Linked DNA regions of Homo sapiens: regions 1, 3 and 4 are each linked to region 2. Evidence: promoter capture Hi-C in 16 types of primary human blood cells and fetal thymus (Javierre and others, 2016). All regions are on one chromosome and are shown on one strand. Each heading gives the region's core, a stretch centred on a gene start or on the middle of the fragment in contact. The rest is flanking DNA. Distances are from core to core; before and after follow the strand shown. Region 1 overlaps SCFD2 (sec1 family domain containing 2). Region 2 holds the start of FIP1L1 (factor interacting with PAPOLA and CPSF1). Region 3 overlaps FIP1L1 (factor interacting with PAPOLA and CPSF1). Region 4 overlaps FIP1L1 (factor interacting with PAPOLA and CPSF1).

Region 1 (2,822 bases), core at 311-2,810, 62 kb after region 2:
TGCTCAACTCAGATGCTGATATAGGTGTATGTGTGTGAATTACCACATTGCAGTAATAGAGTGACTTGGTGAAGAAGTGGGTGCAGGAGACAAAAAAAATACCAGTAAGTATGACTTTGACCTTCTTCAGTGCCAATTATTCAGAGAACCTTAATTAACTTGTAAATGTTCCCTTGATAAACTTAAAATGACCATGTGTAATGTGAAGTTAGTATGACGTGTTTAGAAAACTGTTTAGGACAGGAAGCAGGCATTAGGAACTCTCACACATATCTAGACATTCAGAATTTTTTTTTTTTTTTTTGACATGGAGTCTCGTTCTGTTGCCTAGGCTGGAGTGCAGTGGTATGATCTTGGCTCACTGCAACCTCTACCTCCCGGGTTCAAACGATTCTCCTGCCTCAACCTCCTGAGTAGCTGGGATTATAGGCGCACACCACCACTCCCGGTTAATTTCTGAATTTTATTAGGGGCGGGGTTTCTCCATGTTGGTCAGGCTGGTTTCAAACTCCTGACCTTGTGATCTGCCTGCCTTGGCCTCCCAAAATGCTGGAATTACAGGTGTGAGCCACTGCGCCCGGCCCAGAATTGTTTATATCAGCAAAACAATTTTTAAGAAAACATGACCTGAGTATGTATCACTGTTAGAGATCATGGAAACTTTGTATTTCTTCTAAAATATTTTAATAGACAAGAGCCAGATAGTACAAGCTTCAAGTGACTTTAGTACATCTGCACTAATCAAGATTGTATGAATAAGCATACTCAGTGTAATTAAGTAAGTGAATTCATCCAATATATCACAAACTCCTGAACATAGTGAATTAAAGACCATGAATATAAGACAATACCACTTATAACAACAGTAATACTAGTAACAACTACAACCACCACCACACAACTTACATTTATTGTGAATCAGGAAAGTGCTTTAAATGAATTATATTATTTAATCCTACAACAATCCTGTGAATTCACTATTATAACTTCCAACTCCACAGATACCAAAAAGAGAGCATTAATTATGTGCACAGTTACACAATTAACAAGTATCATTTATTCAGTATTTACTGAGTGTACCCACCAGAGATCTGCACTGTTCTAGGTAGTGAAGAATTAGCAATGAGTAAAACAAAGTCCCTGCCTTCATAGAAGGACCCCACCTTTTATGAGAGAGACAGACAACAAATAAACATGGAAACATAATAAGTCAGCTGGTAATTAGAATTATGTAGAACAGTAAAGCCCAGTAAGTAGACAACAGAGTGCTAGCATAAGATGCTGTGATAGGCAATGTCACTTTTTTAAGCAGGGCAGTAAGGGGAGACCTCTCTGATAAGGTGATGTTTTAGCAGATACCTGGAGGGAGAGAGAGATTTGTAGAAAGAGTGTTCCTCTGCTTGGAATACGGGAGAAGAATGGTCTAGGAGGCCATGTATTTGGAGTGGGTGAGGAGGAGCATGGTTGGAGTTCGAACCCAGATTTATCTGACTGCGGAGTCCATAAACCACTACACCAATCTGATGGGGCAACCACAACGTTACCTAACTTACTGTGATTTTAGAGATGAATTAGCCAGATACATATTCTCATGGAAAAGAGGAGGGTAGTGACATTCTACTCTGAAAGTTCTGGGTTGCGTTGAGACTTATGTGAGAAATCCCTGTGTTTTGTGGAGAGATATTGTTGAGACTAGAGAACAATTATGAAGCATAAGTTTGGGAAACTGGGATTGTAACTCCCATGCTCAGAATTCTTCCATGGTTCTTCAATTGCCTGCAGAGCTTTAGAGAAATTAAGTAACTTTCTGAAAGCCTCATAGCAAACAGACCTCCTTTTGAATTATGATAAAGACTGTATTCATAACTGCTGAGCTATGCTGTTCTTCTCAAAGTGTGAAATCAATCACATGCTCCTTGGCTTCCTGTCACCTACATATCAAAGTTGACATGACTTGGCAAGGAATGCAGAACCCCCAGAGTGTGGCTGCACCTTCTTTTATGCTCTCCTTCCACTGCCCCTCCCCGTGCACCTTGGCATGCAACAGAACAGTGCTCCTCAGGGTCATGTTCCTAGGATTTTTTGCATTCTGAAATGTCCTTCTTTCTCTTGTTTTGTAACCAAGATTTTATATCTTTCTTGAAGGCTTTTTTTTTTTTTTTTTGCCATTTTCCTTCCCAGATTGAGTTTTAACTTCTTCCCAGGCTGCTTTTAGAGCTTATGTATCTTTGTACTTGCTCATCATTTCCAGTAGAAATCATTCCTTCAGTCCCTATCCTCCCAGCTAGGATTATGCTTGCATAAACACCTATGCAAGCATTGACCATGGCTTTTATTACCACACTTTTTTAGTAATTTATTTGCTTTTGTATCTGCCTTGTCTTCTAAACTATGCCATTCAAAGCTTTTTAAAAATCTGTATCCCAACCAAATACAGGGCTTGGCATGTAGTTTACCTGCTTACTTAAATTAAACTTAAGAATATTAGATGCAGAGTTATAATGATGACAGATTTGATCAGATTAAAACAAGTGGAGTATGTTGAGCAGTAATATTAGTTCATTATGGAAAGATACATGATAATAAAAACTATTCAATGAAAGATTATAATGTGTCAGGCATTAAACTCAGTGTAAAAATACATCATTCTATTATTCAATATCCAATTCAAATTTGGAAGATATGTCTTATTAGGTATAACTTTAAAACTAAATTAAAATCTTAATAGATGTAACTTTAAAACTAAATTAAAAATGTATTTATTTTTGAACTATTACTAAGTGGATAGTAGGAGAGTGAGTAGGGCTTTAATTGGAGGAAAA
Region 2 (3,183 bases), core at 490-2,989:
TTGTAAGTCAGTGTTGTAATGAAGCCAATGATTGTAAGAAAATAATTTTGACAACTGACAGAACCATTGTTTCACACAACCTGTGTAATAGGCATCAACAGAAAATTTCACTAACCTGGCATTTTCTTCTTCTGGCCTTTCAACTTCATTTTCATCTACCAAGTAAAATAAACAAATAAATAAATAAGCAAACAAAATAAAGAAACCACTCTTAAAGAAACTAGTATTATGAAAATCTGAAGTGATCATCACAAGCACTAACCTAGGTCCTTTGCCAAATCACTGTGCACATGCACGTCCCATGGGCCTATAAGCACATCCAAAGTTAGATCACCTTATAATTACTTAACAAGATACTTATTTTATGGAAAAAAAAATCAGACTTTACTGCTATAAAAATAAGCTTAAATTTAAGAGGTAATGAAGATTTCCAGATCTTTGTAAAAGAAATCCTACACATTCACATTTCAAAGAGTAGTAACTAATGCTAAATCTTGCCACCAAACGATTTTTTTTTACAAGTTTATCAAAGTCACATCATCAAGGACCTGCATGGTGCCCAAAGTGCACTTTTACTATTCTATTCTAAAGACAATCAAGAATATATGTTTTAGGCAAGGAACAAACATTAACTTTCAAATCTGGTGTTAACAAGCAAGAAGGGATTGTGACTTAAAGTTAAAAACCAGATGTCAAACAAGTACCCTTCTAGAGAGAAGTACATGATGCATTAAATTTATTTTGAGAAAAACAAATACATGAGATGACACTGAAAACTATAAGCCGAAGGGTCATGAGATACCTCCATGATGTAGGTTAAACGGTAGTCTCTTAAAAAAGAATAACTTCACCTTAATACAGGAGACATTCAGAGTTTTCTTTATGGGCCATCTTTCTCTCTCTCTCTCTTAATTAATTATTTTTAAAGCACGACTTTCAGACAAGGAGGTACCCTTGCAGGTGCATTCCATACAAACTGACCATCAAGAAACAAGACGTTAGTTGTACAGCATTAACTTTATTTAGCTATTATTACAGAATGACTGTTTCTGAAAGAAGGGACAGGAAGGGCACCCTAAGGCCACAGGGCAAAAACAGACACCAAAAACCACCACCTCAGAATCGACAGAAAAAAACAAGGGTAAAGAGCGCAGCAGCTAGGCGATCGAGACGCCTCGGGGAAAGCACAGCGAAGCCGGGGGCCAGGACCGGTCACAGCCCCCCAGCCCGGCCCGGCCGCCACAGGGGTGGATGCGCATGGTGGGCGTGGGCCAGGCGGGAGACCGCCGCGGGGACTGGGGGCACGCGCACGCCGCGCTCGGCCTAAGTCAGGCCGGACAGGACTCCCAACCAGAGGCCCGAAGCGGCGGCGCGAGAGGCCAGGGACGCCGGCCGTTTGAGGGCCAAGAGGGGAGGCCTGAGAGAACCCGAGAGACAGAGACAGGAAGTTTCGTACCGCCATAGAGCCACTCTTCCTCCTCATCCCCTCCGGTCCCGCCGCTCAGCTCCGACACTAGGCGCTCGACCTCGCCGGCCGACATGGCCGCCCCGAGCGCAACTTAAACGCGGCGATCAACAGCCCCCTCCAACCCCTTCCCCAGCCTCGCAGCCCCGAGGCGCGAGAAGGGCGCGAACCCGCCGACGAACGAACGAAGAAAGCTCGAGACTCCAATCCCAGGAAGGCGACGGCAGCGGCGGCAAAGATGAAGCCTCCAGCGCAGGTCCGTCTGCGCATGCGCAGGAGACCCAAGCGGCGCGGCGCGTATAGGTGGCTTCGCTTCCGCGGCGGCCACCTGGGCCTGGTTGCGCCTGCGCGCTGAGGTGGGCCCCGCCCCTCTAGGATCCCGGTTTGCTATTTTGCGTGGCTTCCTCCCGTGGCGTCCTGAGTCGGCCAGGGTTCCCCGCCCCCACCCTTCTTTTTAATAACCCGTATTGCCATTGCTGGCGAGTACACCATTGTTCCCTTCTACTCTTCGTGCTCTTTCTTCTCAACTTTTTATTTGTTTTTTAATCTTCAGAAAGGCCTTCTTTTATTCTTTAATCAGCCTTGATACAGAATCATTACCTGTCACTCCCTTTCCTCACTGAATAGAGAAGAAATCACAATCAGTACTATTTCTCAAAAAATTAATTTTCACAGCCAACAAAAGCAAAACTAATAGATGAAGAATGCACTCTCCTTGTTAAAAACCATAAATTACTGTCAAGGTCAAAGACCGCCTCATTCCCCTACCCTTCTCTCCGGAGGTAGCCCTTGCTACAGATGCATATCCTGTTTGGAGTTCATCATTCCGAAATTTCCTATACACTTACTTCATGTGTTGTGCTGTTTTGGTGGGAGAACCTGAGATTGACAAGTCTTAAATAGTACAGTACAGTATAGTATCATCCTTCGACTTCCTTTTTTTTCTTTTTTTTTAGCATCCGTGTCTTGGAGCTCTTTTTCATTTTAGTATGAATCAAACTATATCTATTTTAAGTGCTTCATAAAATTGCATAGTATGGCTATCACAGAGTGAATATGGCTATTTCTCCATTGATGTACACCCAGATTGCTTTTGACTTTACACTTTTAACTACAACAAAAAATGACAATGAAGATCCACACGGCTCCTTGCAGATTTGTCTGTTTCTCAAAGATAGATCATAAAGTATGTACAGTTTTTATTTTAATAGGTAAACCAAATGTTCAGGCCGCTTCTGAAAGCACATCTTCCAGTGAAAAGATGACATACCATGGTTCAAACTGGAGCTCTAGGTTTGTCTAGGTTTTTTGTTTGTTTGTTTATTTATTTGAGGCGGAGTCTCACTCTGTTGCCCAGCTGGAGTACAGTGGTGCGATCTCTGCTCACTGCAACCTCCACCTCCTGGGCTCAAGCGATTCTTCTGCCTCAGCCTCCCAAGTAGCTGGGATTACAGGCACGCACCACCATGCCCAGCCAATTTTTGTATTTATAGTAGAGAGGGGGTTTCACCATTTTGGCCAGGCTGGTTTTGAACTCCTGACCTCAGGTGATCTGCCCACCTTGGTGTCCCAAAGTGCTGGGCTTACAGGCATGAGCCACCACGCCCGGCCTGTTTTTTTGTTTTGTTTTGTTTTGTTTTGTTTTGTTTTGTTTTGTTTAAAAAACAGTCTTACTCTGTAACCCAGGCTGAAATGCAGTGGCAGGGTCACTGTTCACT
Region 3 (2,906 bases), core at 188-2,687, 59 kb before region 2:
CCCAGGAGGCGGAGGTTGCAGTGAGCCGAGGTCGCGCCACTGCACTCCAGCCTGGGCAACAGAGCGAGACTCCATCTCAAAAAAATAAAATAAAATAATAAATAAATAAATAAATAAATAAAAACTACCTTGAACATGCATGAGAATCACCTGGAGAGTCTCTTAAAACACACAGATTGCTGGGCCCTTCCCCTAGAATTTCTGATTCAGTAAGTCTGGGGTGGGACCAGAAAACCTACATTCCCCTAAATTTCCCAGATGATGTTGCTGGCCCAGGACTATACTATGAGGATCACTGGATCCGATTCTAAGCTTCCCTCCTAATTTCACTGCTGAGCAATTTAGTACAGACTAAATAAATCCCATTCCGAATTTTTATGAAACAAAAGCATCTACCTATGACACTTAAAAGGACTATGAGAGCCTACACCATCTGGCATTCTCAAAAGAGAAGATGATTTCTCTCTCTTTTTTTTTTTTTTTTTTTTTTTTTTTGGTTGAGACAGGGTCTCACACTGTTGTGTAGGGTGAGTGGCATGACCACGGCTCACTGCAACCTCTGCCTCCCCAGCTCAAAGCAATCCTCCCACCTCAGCCTCCCAAGTAGCTGGGACTACAGGTGTGTACCACCATGCTCAGCTAATTTTTTGCATTTTTTGTGGAGACAGGGTTTCGCTATGTTGCCCAGGCTGGTCTCAAACTCCTGGGCTCAAGCGATCCACCCGCCTCAGCCTCCCAAAGTGCTGTGATTACAGGTGTGAGCAACCATGCCTGGCCTTAATTTTTGCATTTTTTATAAAGATGGGGTTTCTTCATGTTGCCCAGGCTGGTCTCGAACTCCTGAACTCAAGCAATCTACCCGCCTTGGCCTCTCAAAGTGCTGGGATTACAGGAGTGAGCCACCACACCCAGCTTAATTTTTCCAGCATATAACACATACACTTAAATGTAAAAGTGGGTGGGGGTAAGACCTGAAATCCTATTTTGGAGATTGAAAGAACTGAGGCAAAGAAACAGAAAGGCAGCATTCCTGTTAAACATCATATTAAAAAGAATTTACCCATACTAAAAATTCCCACAAAATTAATAGTGGGCTTTGCACTCACAAAAAAACTAAACAGATTGTCTATAAACTCATTCTCAATGTAGTCTATCATAATTTTATATAACTAAGGCAAAATAGCTTCTGACATGGCTCTCAATGATCCCTGTCTGCTGGTATTTATGTCCTGTGTGGGGGCTGGACATTGTGACTTATTTCTACCACACACAAAAAAAATCAAAGGATGTTACTTCCATGACTAGGTTACAAAAGACAGTTATTTCTATTTCACTGGCACCCTCTCTGTTGCCTTCTTGGCTTACATGCTTTGATTAAGCAAGCTAACATATTAAGACGCCTACACCAGTGAGGAACTGAAGCCCTGTCAATGCAACAGCCTAGAAAAAAACAAAATCCTTTTAACAAAGAGGTGAGTGAGCTTGGAGACAAATACTTCCTTAGTCAGGCTTTTGGAGAAGACTGTGAGGTCTGAGAGAGACCTTAAAGCAGAGGATCCAGCTAAGCTGTCCCAGATTCCTGACCCATGAAAACTGTTCAATAATAAATGTATGTTGTTTTAAGCCACTACATTCTGGAGTAACTTGTTATACGGCAGTAGAAACCCAATACATGCAATAACCATCTATCTTTTCTCTATTCAAATTCACATGAAAGAAAAAAAATGGCAGAATATGTAAACTACGCTTCCTATTTCTCACTAGTAAATTCCAAGTTCCGTCGGCACTATTATTTAAGAAACAGATAAACTTGATCACTTTCCTTAAGTCTCATGACTTGTATTTCAAAGCCATCAAGCTCAGAAGTTTTACTCAAAATGAGTAGAAAAGGACAAGGTTTACAAAAATCTTTAAATATCACCTTCTACCAGAAATGCGTTTCTATGTATCAGGATTTTAAAAATTCAACACAAACAAAAACATACGCACACACACGTGTATCATCTCATCTACCATCCACCCTTAAATACAAACCAGAATGTAGAAAGAATATGGCAAAACCATTATTTCATAATTAAAACAATTACAAGGTGCAAAAAAAGTTTTAAGTTATTTTTAAGAAAAGAAAAAAGGGTTAAAAAGTGGTACGGTCACACAACAAAGTAACCAAAAATTTACCAGCATACTTCATGTCTAAAAGGTAAAAAAGGTAATTTTACATACACTATAAAATGGACAAACTATGTTACCTTTATTAGGATCTGTTACTCTTCTATTTTATAAAATCTAAAGCCTACAGAAGATAAACTTCTATCTTACACAAAACATTTTTGATAGAAATACCTATGTTTTTTAATAGAGAACTTGTAAAGAAATGATCTCTACCAGCTTCCATATAATCATGAGACGATCAAAAGAGCAGTGTAAGCAGAAGGCACAAATTAAACTGTAATTAGATTCAACAAAATGTGGTGTCAATGATGTATTCAAAATGTAACTATTATAAAGGGTGCATCCTGGAGGAGAAAGCACATTCAAAAATCAACATCCTAAGAAAGCTTTTAATCTCTATTAAATTTACATTTAAATAAATTTTAATTGTGCCAGAAAATTCTATTTATTATAGATAATTAGCATTGCTCTCTGTTTTGAATTTAATGAAAACACTGATAGGCAGGCTTTTTAAATTGAATATAGAAAAACACAAGAATAAATACAGTTTTCAAAAACTTTGAGTTCTTTTTTAATGGTAACTCTGGAAAATGCTTACATTTCTGGCAAACAGTGCCAGTTAATTTGAGGTAATCTGTTGAGTAAGACCAAAAATTCATGGTATTATAAAATTAGCTTAATAAACATTATAGTCATAAACTAGTTTCTCAATTAAAGGGATAAAAGTGTACTTC
Region 4 (2,912 bases), core at 23-2,522, 42 kb before region 2:
CAAGGCTCTAAATCAGTGGTTCTCAACCTTGCCTGCATATCAAAATCCTGATGCACAGGGTGTACACCAGACTATTTAAAATTACATTTCTGGGACCCAGCATCAATACTTTTTTGAAGCTTCCTAGGTAATTCCAATATGGTCAAAGTTGAAGACTACAAATCTAAGGGCATGTTCAAGAGACTGCTAGACATTTTGTTCCCTCCAGAAAGAACTTAAAGTAGCTCATAAAAAATTAATATTTATTTCAAGAAAAATTTAAAGTCATATCCATCAACATAAGAATATCATTGATTACATATTTTTCTACAGATCTTTTAGTTTTGTGGTACTTGAGCCCAGGAATTCGAGATCAGCCCGGGCAACATGACTGGTCTGAAATGGTACTGTTTCTATACCTGTGTGTACGTTTTACTTCCACAAGCACAAGAATAATTTTCTCTACAGTATATACACAATTTATAAAGAAAATATATTCTAATGTTCGAGTAACAATTTATTAATGAAAAATCCCGCCCAGAAAAAGAACCTAGTCTAAAATAAAAATCACAGAATTCAAAACACTTTTCTGGACATACAATTTATTTTCTATCAGTACTACATTTAAAGAGACTGATAAAGCCCATGATGAAAGAGGAGATCCGACACTCACTGAGTGTCTGATTTATCTTTTTTTTTTTTTTTTTTTGAGATGGAGTTTCACTCTTGTTGCCCAGGTTGGAGTGCAATGGCACGATCTCAGCTCACCACAACCTCTGCCTCCTGGATTCAAGCAATTCTCCTGCCTCAGCCTCCCGAGCTGGGATTACGGACGCATGCTACCACGCCCAGCTATTTTTTTTTTAATTTTTTTTTTAGTAGAGACAGGGTTTCTCCATGTTGGTCAGGCTGGTTTTTTTTTTTTTTTTTTTTTTTTTTTTGAGACGGAGTCTTCCTCTGTCGTCCAGGCTGGAGTGCAGTGGCGCGATCTCAGCTCACTGCAAGCTCCGCCTCCCGGGTTCACGCCATTCTCCTGCCTCAGCCTCCTGAGTAGCTGGGACTACAGGCGCTCGCCACCGCGCCCGGCTAATTTTTATTGTATTTTTAGTAGAGACGGGGTTGCACCGTGGTCTCGATCTCCTGACCTCGTGATCCACCCGCCTCGGCCTCCCAAAGTGCTGGGATTACAGGCGTGAGCCACCGCGCCTGGCCTGGTCAGGCTGGTCTTGAACTCCCGACCTCAGGTGATCCGCCCACCTCAGCCTCCCAAAGTTCTGGGATTATAGGCGTGAGCCATTGCGCCTGGCTGATTTATCTTTCAAGCCCTGAAATAGGTGCTTTCACAGCTTAGAATTTATTTAATCCTTACAAGTACATCACATTTAAGGTATATGGGGCCGGCATAGTGGCTCACACCTGTAATCTCAGGTGTGATTTGGGAGTAGGCCGAGGCAGGAGAATCACTTGAGTTCAGGAGATCAAGATCAGCCTGAGCAACATAGTGAGACCTCATCTCTACAAAAAATAAAAAATTAGCCGAGCATGGTGGGCATGCCTGTAGTCCCAGCTACTCGGGAGGCTGAGATGGGAGGACTGCTTGAGCCTGGTAGTTCGAGTTTGCAGGGAGCTATGATCCCACCACTACACTCAACCTGGGAAACAGAGTGAGACTCTGTCTTGAAAAAATAAAAAGTAAAGTACATATCCAATTAGTTTCATTTTCACAGATGTGGAAAGAGGCTCTTTTGCATTGTAAAGTGGCAGCACTAGGATTCAGGCTTAGCATAACCAACTTCAAACCCCTTCCCTTCTTCTTCAACAGTGTTTATCATACTAATTTTCTGGGGTCTGAATTTTTTAAATGTCAATTTTTAAGCTCTATTTAAAACAAAACAAAAAAACCTTGAATGTTTAAAGGTGAAATAAGCCCAAATTTCACTCACTGGAGGACATAAGTGTGTTCAAAAGTGCAAACAAGTTTACTCACTTTTGTACAGAGCTTGGAATAAAGCTCTACCTTCCATATTTATGCTTAATTTCATGCTTTTAAATGTATCAATGATAGGAAAAGACACAGCTCTACAAGAATCTTAAAAAAACAAACAAAAAACCCCAAAGGCCTTCATATGTCCAATAACATAAAATCTTACAAACTACACACTATAGCAACATGCATTCAGAGCACTTGATCAAATGCCCCAAGGTATGGGCACATCTTTTCAGTACAGTGTCTCATCAAGACATAAAAGGAGATAGTCAGAGGAAGAGGTCATTCTTAGATATAATATTCATTTAACGTCCAGTTTTATTATAAGTATTGTGTTTAATAGAAGAAATACATGCATGTTTAAATGTATTCGTGATTTAACATTGAAAAGCAATTTTTACTATTCATTCAAGAGTATGAATCAGTTAAAAAGCATTGTAATATAGGAACATAAGCTTAAGAAAAATAAACTATCACTTGAAAATTAAGAGGAACAGAACTTGGTAACATAAAATGGAAACAAAATAAAAAAATAAACTGTGCATTAGGATATGTTTACAGCAATCATCCATATTACCAGTTTCAATTTCCTGCACTCACTGAAACTGCTTCACTCTTCTAATTAGTTTCACAAGAGTTAAAAATTTGATTTTATAAAGCAAACTTACACCAATAAAATGCCACTGTTATACATATAGATTTAGCTTGAAGAATACTGTTAAAGTTTGAAAAACACTTACAGATTTGGCTTGAAGAATACTGTTAAAATCGGGAAAACACTGTATTATACAAATTAATAGTAACTAGCATATGATAAGGCCACAACTTCAAATATAATAACTGTTATTTATGTATTTATTTATTTATTTAGAGACCAGGTTGGGCTCCATTACCCAGGCTGGAATGCAGTGGCACGATCACAGCTCACTGCAGCCTCACCTGTCCA

Evidence for each region. The method cuts DNA at HindIII sites, captures the fragments that hold promoters and counts their contacts. A CHiCAGO score of 5 or more calls a contact.
Region 1: a contact is called between a fragment that was not itself captured here and the fragment with the promoter of FIP1L1 in region 2, in 1 of 17 cell types (megakaryocytes). The highest score is 6.0, in megakaryocytes.
Region 3: a fragment that was not itself captured here is called in contact with the fragment with the promoter of FIP1L1 in region 2 in 5 of 17 cell types (naive CD8 T cells, naive CD4 T cells, total CD4 T cells and 2 more); the score reaches 5.5 in naive CD8 T cells.
Region 4: a contact is called between a fragment that was not itself captured here and the fragment with the promoter of FIP1L1 in region 2, in 5 of 17 cell types (total CD8 T cells, naive CD8 T cells, naive CD4 T cells and 2 more). The highest score is 6.3, in total CD8 T cells.

The regions. Positions count from the first base shown.
Region 1 is chr4:53,314,589-53,317,410 of GRCh38, reverse strand. All of the region lies in intron 2 of SCFD2 (sec1 family domain containing 2), which reads left to right. Among named protein-coding and RNA genes, the nearest start is that of SCFD2, 50 kb to the left of the region's middle. The HindIII fragment of the contact is 1,693 bases long and covers 714-2,406 here.
Region 2 is chr4:53,376,197-53,379,379 of GRCh38, reverse strand. It overlaps FIP1L1 (factor interacting with PAPOLA and CPSF1), which reads right to left and starts at 1,739. Exons shown (of 18, transcript NM_030917.4): 1 at 1,457-1,739; 2 at 263-307; 3 at 116-155. The coding sequence starts at 1,541. LOC105377654 (a long non-coding RNA gene) reads left to right here and starts at 1,640. Exons shown (of 3, transcript XR_007058118.1): 1 at 1,640-1,721. RefSeq lists a silencer at 1,162-1,251 and enhancers at 924-1,472, 1,412-1,531, 1,582-1,671, 1,473-2,021. The HindIII fragment of the contact is 4,469 bases long and covers 406-3,183 here.
Region 3 is chr4:53,434,916-53,437,821 of GRCh38, reverse strand. The region is part of intron 13 of FIP1L1 (factor interacting with PAPOLA and CPSF1); the gene reads right to left. Among named protein-coding and RNA genes, the nearest start is that of FIP1L1, 59 kb to the right of the region's middle. The HindIII fragment of the contact is 2,246 bases long and covers 315-2,560 here.
Region 4 is chr4:53,418,206-53,421,117 of GRCh38, reverse strand. The region is part of intron 11 of FIP1L1 (factor interacting with PAPOLA and CPSF1); the gene reads right to left. Among named protein-coding and RNA genes, the nearest start is that of FIP1L1, 42 kb to the right of the region's middle. The HindIII fragment of the contact is 2,302 bases long and covers 122-2,423 here.